Regions from separate parts of the Homo sapiens genome. Here region 2 is linked to region 1. Evidence: promoter capture Hi-C in 16 types of primary human blood cells and fetal thymus (Javierre and others, 2016). All regions are on one chromosome and are shown on one strand. Each heading gives the region's core, a stretch centred on a gene start or on the middle of the fragment in contact. The rest is flanking DNA. Distances are from core to core; before and after follow the strand shown.

Evidence for each region. Contacts are between HindIII fragments. The CHiCAGO score rates a contact against its expected background, and 5 or more counts as called.
Region 2: a fragment that was not itself captured here is called in contact with the fragment with the promoter of TAGLN2 in region 1 in 1 of 17 cell types (fetal thymus); the score reaches 5.9 in fetal thymus.

The regions. Positions count from the first base shown.
Region 1 is chr1:159,923,199-159,927,069 of GRCh38, forward strand. It overlaps TAGLN2 (transgelin 2), which reads right to left and starts at 2,309. Exons shown (of 5, transcript NM_003564.3): 1 at 2,252-2,309. LOC124904437 (a long non-coding RNA gene) reads left to right here and starts at 680. Exons shown (of 2, transcript XR_007066683.1): 1 at 680-753; 2 at 1,281-3,742. IGSF9 (immunoglobulin superfamily member 9) reads right to left here. Exons shown (of 21, transcript NM_001135050.2): 21 at 3,843-3,871. RefSeq lists enhancers at 330-429, 440-599, 739-1,938, 1,411-1,987 and a silencer at 1,270-1,679. The HindIII fragment of the contact is 4,255 bases long and covers 571-3,871 here.
Region 2 is chr1:161,041,084-161,044,954 of GRCh38, forward strand. It overlaps USF1 (upstream transcription factor 1), which reads right to left. Exons shown (of 11, transcript NM_007122.5): 2 at 2,185-2,277; 3 at 1,750-1,799; 4 at 1,472-1,587; 5 at 1,033-1,134; 6 at 568-763; 7 at 241-328. The coding sequence starts at 2,192. Among named protein-coding and RNA genes, the nearest start is that of USF1, 3.0 kb to the right of the region's middle. RefSeq lists enhancers at 674-833, 3,694-3,871. The HindIII fragment of the contact is 2,818 bases long and covers 1,213-3,871 here.

The DNA.
Region 1 (3,871 bases), core at 1,059-3,558:
AGAAGAGATATGCCCAGCTGGAAGACAGGTGTGGGGGACCCCCAGAGCTGGGGACCCCAAAGGAAGGTGACAGCTGAACAACCTGGGGGATGGACTGGCAGGGAGCAACCTAAACCCTAGCGCTACTGCAGCTGTGAGAACAACCCTCACCCTCACCCTGGAGTTACAATAGGCGGGAAACGGGGAGGGGCCACGCAAGGCACTCGGCCCCACCCAGACCCTGGGCTGGAAGCTTACCTCACCAAAGCCAAAGCCAAAGAAAAGGCGGACATGGGTGGGGGCAGGGAGGACTTCAGGGTTCTTGGCTAGGGTGTTTAATTGGGAAGACAAAGGGACTCTCCATCCACCGTGCAGATGGAACACAGGAGAACTTCCCAACTCAGATTTGGGACAGGGAGTGTTCTCAAAGAGCAGCACAGTGAGGGCACCAGCCCACAGAGCGAGGTGCCACAGCCAGCAGCAAGGATGGGGGGCGGCCCACAATTAAGGGAACCACCGTAGGGCAGCCCCTCACCACCGAGAGTCAGGAGCAGAAGAGAAAGCTGAGGCTACACAAACAGGAAGCTCCAAAGCTTGCGTGGGAGGAGGGGATGAGGTGGGGGCCGTTGCCATGGCTTCTGTGTACCAAACAGTGTTGGAGGCTGGGTGGGGGCTCCGGGCAGAAACACCCTGTCAACACAGACGTTGTGGTGAGCAGGCTGTGAGCACGGGAGCAGAAGTGGGATCGTCTCAGCAGTGCTCGGGTGTAGCCAGGTGCAAGAGATTATTCCAGGAGACAGCTATAGTGGGGATGGACAGCGTGTGGGGGAAGATAGGAAATGACCCGTGTTGGGGTGAAGAAGAGGACTCAGGAAGTAGTTGTTCAGGAGAAGAAATCCCCTGGGAAGGGAAAGTGTTCTGAGCTAGAGAACCCACAGCTGAAAATTCTGGAGGGAGAAGGGATGGAATGAAGAAAGGATTAGGGGCCAATCCCGGGGTGGGGGACAGGGGCAGAGGCCTTGGGGTGAGGGAGGGAGTTGCGGTTGGACAAAACCTATTTGTTGGTTCTGGAATGGTAGGGCCCTACTGGGCCCGCCCTGCCTTGGCCTCCTCTGCAGTTGTAGGTCTGCCCCTTGTAGTGGGGAGGAGAAACTGGGAGGGGGCTAGAGATAGAGAGCCATTGCTGTCTGGTGCTTTGAAGTCAATGAGAACACTGGGGGAGCCCCGTCCCAGCCGCAGGTCTTCTACATCGAATCCCACACTCCATCCCCACTCTCACCCCGTTTCTCTCTGCCCCACAGATACCAACTGCTCACAGATCTCCCAGGACACCGGCTTCAGGTAGCCCCAGGAGGCACAGGGCGCGGGGGGAGGCGGCAGTCCACCTCCGGTCCTGCAGGTCCGGCCTCCCAGCCGCCGCCCCCCACCCCCACGACCACACCCTGGGCCGTTACAACAGATGAGTCACCCACCGCCCTCCCGCCGCTGGGGTGACGCAGTGGTCTGGGCAGCCCGCCCGTCCGCCCGCGGCCACCACCGGCTTTCCCAGCAGCAGGGGGCACCCGGTGGGGGCAGCGGCGCTCGGGCAGGGTAAAAGCAGCCACCACCACCCCCACAACCTCACACAGGGCACCCCGGGGCGCAGTCAGGGCTGCAGCACCCAGACCCCCGAGGTCAGGGGACCGTCATAGAGATGACTGGAGCTTCACAGAAGGTCACCGTGCGACCCATGCAGAGCCCCCTAGCCCCAGCCCGTGACCTCAAGTCCCCAGAATAGCAAGCTAGCAGGAACAGGAATGAAAAGGGCGGCCTCGGGGACTCAGAGGGCACGCAGTGCTCACACGTGCTCCTGGAACCAGGAAGTGAAGGGTCGCGCGGGAAAGCCCAGGAGCACGAGCTGGCCCAGGGCCGGCGCCACGACCCGGGGTCACTCGGGGCCAGCCAGCTAAAGTCCGACGCCCTTTTTTCCCCTCGCCCCAGTGAGGACTCAGCGATGGAGCCCGCGGGTGGGGCTCAGTCCCTGAGTCCCTGCTCCAGACGGACGCCCTGTCTATGCATGGGCTAACCTCGCCTGACCTCATCGTCCAACAATGTCGGGTCAGGGCTTGGGGACAGGACCTGACAGCACGGGGCGGGGTAAAGTAGTCACCGGACCCTTGCCTGGTACCAGCCCTTGATCCCCGAGCTCGCTGGAGCAAGTTCAAAGCGCTGGCTTCTTGCTTTCTACACAGCACGCACATGTCCCCGACCCCCGTACCCCCGACCTGCTCACCGTTCAAGCGGGCTGGAGAGCGGCGCACTGACTCAAGGCAAGGGCTGCAGCTGCAAGTGGTGCGCCCTGCCCAGCCGGGGATTTTCAGGAGGGTCCCGCCTCAGACGGGGCGGACCCGGGGCGGGGCAAGGGCCAAGAAGGTTTAAAGGCGCCGCAGCGCAGAAGGAGGGAGGACTGCTTGAGACAGAGGGACAGTAGACCAGAGCAAGGGTTAAAGGTTCGGGGAGTCTGAATCTACAAAGGCGGCTGCAGTGGTCTCCACCCGTGAGTACCTCAGCCTCCACCGAGAGCCCGTAGACTTGTGCCCCAGTAGGAAACTTTCTGCCTAGAAAGTTAGCTAAACACTGTGGGCGTGTTTATGTAGGAAGAAGCCTCCTAGTTTAGAGGCTGGCAAGGTAAAAGGAGGCACAGGAAGGCCTTCCCCCGACCCCAACTGACTAGTGTGTGACAGGACTGGGACTTGCAGGCCGGGACAGCACCCCCACGTGATCTTGCTCACCTCTTACTTCAAGCCTGGGCAGGGACTAACAGTGAGGTCACTCTGCCCAGGGCCCTAGGGGTGTTTTCGGTGTTGGGACCCAGGGCTCAGACCTGTCTTCTCCCTGCCTTTCATCTCCTTTTCTATGACCTGGTATCTCTTCCTAAATCCTGGAGGGATCAGAGGGGGAGACCTCAGCGCGAGGAGGCTGGCTGGGGTTCTTTTGTCTCTGAGGGTGGAGGACAGCACAGTTCAGGGGTGGAGAAAGAGCCCCCCATCCTTTCAGGCTTCAGTTGAATAGAGTCCCCCGGGGTGGAGTTCTGCACACATGATAGAGTCCTCCCTTGAACCTGAGATTCCAGGATGTCAATATCCAGTCCTGTCCAACCTTTCTATTATTCTCTGTTCCCTCCCCGAGTCCTACACAGCCCTATATTCCAGTCCCACTGATTGTCAAGCATTCTCACTCTTCTGTGCCTTTACAAAGGCTATTCCTCTGCCTAGGACAGTTTCCCTTCCTTGACTGGCTCCCCACCTGCTCTACCCTTTACCTGCTGTGTGACTGTTGTGCATTCTATGCTTGAGTTCCCTGGTCTATAGAACAGAGCTAATAGTACTACCTAATTCATAGAATTGTAGAGAACTAAACAGTCCACCTATAGGGCTTAGAGCAGTGCCTGGCACATAGTGAATACTATTATTACCACCATCTATCTGTGAGGGTCCTGAGGACTCCCCCCCAATATGTGGCATTTGTCCCAGCACACGATATTAGCGTTCACTAAAGGTGGCCTTGAATGCAACATCTTCCTTTGTGCTACAATAACCAACACATAGCTTTATCACGGAACTTATCATACGGTAACTATTTCTTTGTCCGCCTCACTGACTAGAAAGAACTCCTCAAGGGCAAAGGCGTGCTTCCAGAGCTTTGTATTTTCTCAGTATCTACTTCAGTGGCTGGCCTTTAGTAGCTGGCCTCCGTAAGCACTCAATAAATGTTCTTGAATGAATGCTGAATGCACCTCCATTTATTCAAGAAGATTCTCCTCTTCTTTAAGGGTCCAGGGATTTTCCTGGCACTCTCTCAAAGACAGATAACACACAGAAACATCTTTCAAACTTTGTTTATTCACCTGTAA
Region 2 (3,871 bases), core at 1,372-3,871, 1.1 Mb after region 1:
AAACCCTGTCTCTACTAAAGATACAAAAATTAGCCAGGGGTGGTGGTACATGTCTGTAGTTCCAGCTACTCAGGAGGCTGAGGCATGAGAAACGCTTGAACCCTGGAAGCAGAGGTTGCAGTGAGCTGAGATCATGCCACTGCACTCCAGCCTGGGTGACAGAGCAAGACTCTGTCTCAAAAAAAAAAAAAAAAAAAAAAAACCACTTACGGAATCTGAGAAGAAACAAGGGTCACTCACGGGGAATAAGGGTGAGTCCTAGGGGCAATTGAGCGCTGGCTTCCTCCCTGCAGTACTTCTTGTGGTGACATCATCACAAAGAATTGACCTGTGAAGATGCAGGGTAGGTTCTGTCAGGACATGGGTAGGAACCTCACCAAGCCCTGAGGTGAAGACCCTGGTCCCCTCCTCTAAAAAGAACATGCTAATAGAAGAGCAGCCCCAGACTCACTGCCTGTCCAGGTCTTAATGATCACTAAGAGTCATGAGTGAAGGCTCACTGCCTACCAGTCATGTCCCACAGCCTATTCTAGCCCTTTCAGCCAGCATCCTCATGCAATATCTCACCAGTGCCAGGAGGGGTCGCCTGCCCCAGCAGTGCCTCTGAGCCCTGGGTAGTAACAACAGCAGCTGTACTCCCCGATGTGGTACCCCCTGCCCCATCTCCCACTGCCGTGCTGGGGAAGTAAGTATAGTGCGTCTCAGCAGCTGTCCCCTCCGTGTCAACTGCATCATCACTGGTGAAAGCACCCTGGATCACCGCCTGGGAAGGGGAGCAAGAAAACTGATTCTGGTAACAGTCAAAAACTTCTTCCCACTACACCACTCTGCAGCTTCTATCCGTTGGGGTGGTAGGTAGGGTGGAGAGAGAGAGAGAGAGAGAGAGAAACATCCAGAAAAGGAGAGCCTAGTGCTTTGGGACAAGGCAGCCTTAGATGCCTCACTGTTCCTAGCTTCACCCCCATCCTACTGATTCCCTTCTTCATCTTACTTCTCAGAACTCTAGTGACCTCCCCAGCCCATACCCTGTACCTGGGTCATGGATTGAGTGGCAGGGTAGCCACTGATGGCGCCAGTTCCCTCAGTTTGGCCATCCAGCTGCCCCTCAGACACCTGGATCACCCTGTACATCACCTAGAAGTGTAGAGGAAGGCAGAGGGAGTGAAGAGAGAAGAAAAGATTAAGTGTTGGGAATCCTAGGGCCCCTCATAAAGCTTCCCTTGGATAGGGCCCCAAAACAAAGTCCTTCAGAGACATGGATTCAGCCATTCTCCCTTCTTTCCCCACACAGAGGTTTCAGCATACATCTAACCTCACACCAGTCTCTACTCCAGTATTAGCACCTCCCTCCCCTGCAACAGTCCACTCTTTCAACTCATCCTCCAAGCCAGGTCTCCCCAAGACATGTTCAATTACCTCCCTCAATCCCAACCCCAGATAACACCTGCAGCCACCTGGCCCCCTCCCTTACCTGGCCCCCATTCTCAGTTCGGAAGACGTACTTGACGTTGGGGTCAGGGAAGGTGGCAGCTGACTGGATGCTGGCAATAGCCACACTGGTTGGGTCTTCCCCAGTAGCCACTGCACCTGAATTAAAAGAACAAAGGAAAAGTCTGTGAGTTAACTGCCTTTCTACCCCCGTTCCATTTGCATGTCACGGAAGGAGGAGGATGCACAGGAGATGGTCTGGTGGGGAAGGAAGGGAGGCCATGATGGGTTCTTAGTCTTGGTTCTGTTTCTAGCACTCACCTTCCTGAATCTGCACTGTCCCCTCTTCCGTTTCAGCTGTTTTCTGCTGCCTGTTTGTGGTGAAAGGACAAAAGGAAGAGTATGAGAAGAAGTCAATGAGAAGCTCACTGGCCCAGTAACATATGGCTGCAAACTCATTGGCATTCCCAACAGAAGCTGGGTTAGGTTAGAATAACAACTAGTGTTTACTGTTTACTATGTACATAAGCACTAAGCTAAGTACATTACATGTAATCTTATTTAGTACTAAAAACAGCACCACGAGATAGATAGCACTACTTCCATTTTATAGATAGAGAAACCAAATCACACAGTAAGTGATAGAGTAGAACCTGAATCCAGGTCTGCCTGACTCCAGAGGCAGTGCTCTTGGTCATTTTGCATTCTTCCAGGCCACCCATCTTTCATCCCAGACCCTACCTCTTCTTCACTCACCCCTTCATCTCTCTGTGAGGGGGCACATCCGAGGAACTGGTCCTTTTTTGGAGGTCTTTGTATCTCCTGATTCACAGGCCTGAGTGCTAAGTCCTGGTAGAAATCATGAAGTTTGCAATGAGTTTAGGAAACAGAACAGTATCTCTGGTTCTAGAACTTAGGTTCCATGAACACATAGCCAGGAAAATAACCCAGTCATCTGCAGGGGACAATCAGCCTCCACCATACTGATGTTGAGGACTGGCCTACAGTGATTGAAAAAGCAAGGCTACAAATAGTGTTCCCCATCCCTCCATTATCACTCCAACTCCTGGTGGAGAGTGGATAATTATACTGGAAGACAGAAACAACACTTTTTTTTTTTTTTTTTTTTTGAGACAGAGTCTCTCTCTGTCACCCAGGCTGGAGTGCAGTGGCGCGATCTCAGCTCACTGCAACCTCTGCCTCCCAGGTTCAAGTGATTCTCCTGCCTCAGCCTCCGGAGTAGCTGGGATTACAGGTGCACACCACCACGCCTGGCTAATTTTTGTATTTTTAGTAGAGACGGGGTTTCACCATGTTGGCCCGGCTGGTCTCGAACTCCTGAGAGCATGATCTGTCCACCTCGGCAGCCTCCCAAAGTGCTGGGATTACAGGTGTGAGCCACTGCACCTGGCCGAAACAACACATTTCTTTCTTTTTTTTTTTTTTTTTTCTGAGACAGAATCTTGCTCTGTCACCCAGGCTGGAGTGCAGTGGCACAATCTCGGCTTACAACCTCCATCTCCTGGGTTCAAGTGATTCTCCTGCCTCAGCCTCCTGAATAGCTGGGATTATAGGTGCCCACCACCACGCCCAGCTAATTTTTGTATTTTCAGTAGAGATGGGGTTTTACCATATTGGCCAGGCTGGTCTGGAACTCCTGACCTCAGGTGATCCGCCTGCCTCGGCCTCCCAAAGTGCTTGGATTACAGGCATGAGCCACCGCACCCAGCCAACAACACATCTCTAAATGGATCATTAAAGCTATTATGACCTGCCATGATGGCAGCTTCATGGGAATCAGGAAGGGCCATGTATTGGCCCCACCATCAAAAAATACAGTGTCATGGACACTGATGCTTCTTCCAGTTTCTCAGCCACATGTTGTCCATCAAGACATTTCTGTTTTCAAACCTAGGAAGAGGAAATCTGAAGCCCACTACCACTGGAAGAATATCCCTGACCACAAAGACTAGACTTGGCATTTGGGCCCCATTCTACTGACAGGACTCTTGTTTTGGGGTATCCAGATTTATATAATCTGTTAGAAACCCTAAAGCCCAAGTGGATCCTCTTCAAGCATTCTCTATTTTATTCATCAAGCCTTCCTGCAGAACAACACTGTTGCTAAAATGTTGCTATGACAACTCCAAATCAACTAAGCCTGAGCAAGAAGGGGTAAAAAAAAAAAAAACAGGGTTCTGAAGAAGAGACAAAGGGGGAAGAATCCACCTACAAGCTCTGCCTTAGGACCCTGACACCCAGCCAGAGGGCAGGAAAAACAAAGAGCTGGGCAGACATGCCTCCAGAAAGAAACAGCTACACAGTACAAAGCAATAAGATAATCCCAACACAAAAGGGGCAAGATTTTTGGAAATTCTCTACCCATAAGGTCCTCCAAACCTTTCCTATCCAAGGAAAATTTTCAATGGATAAGCCTCGGAAA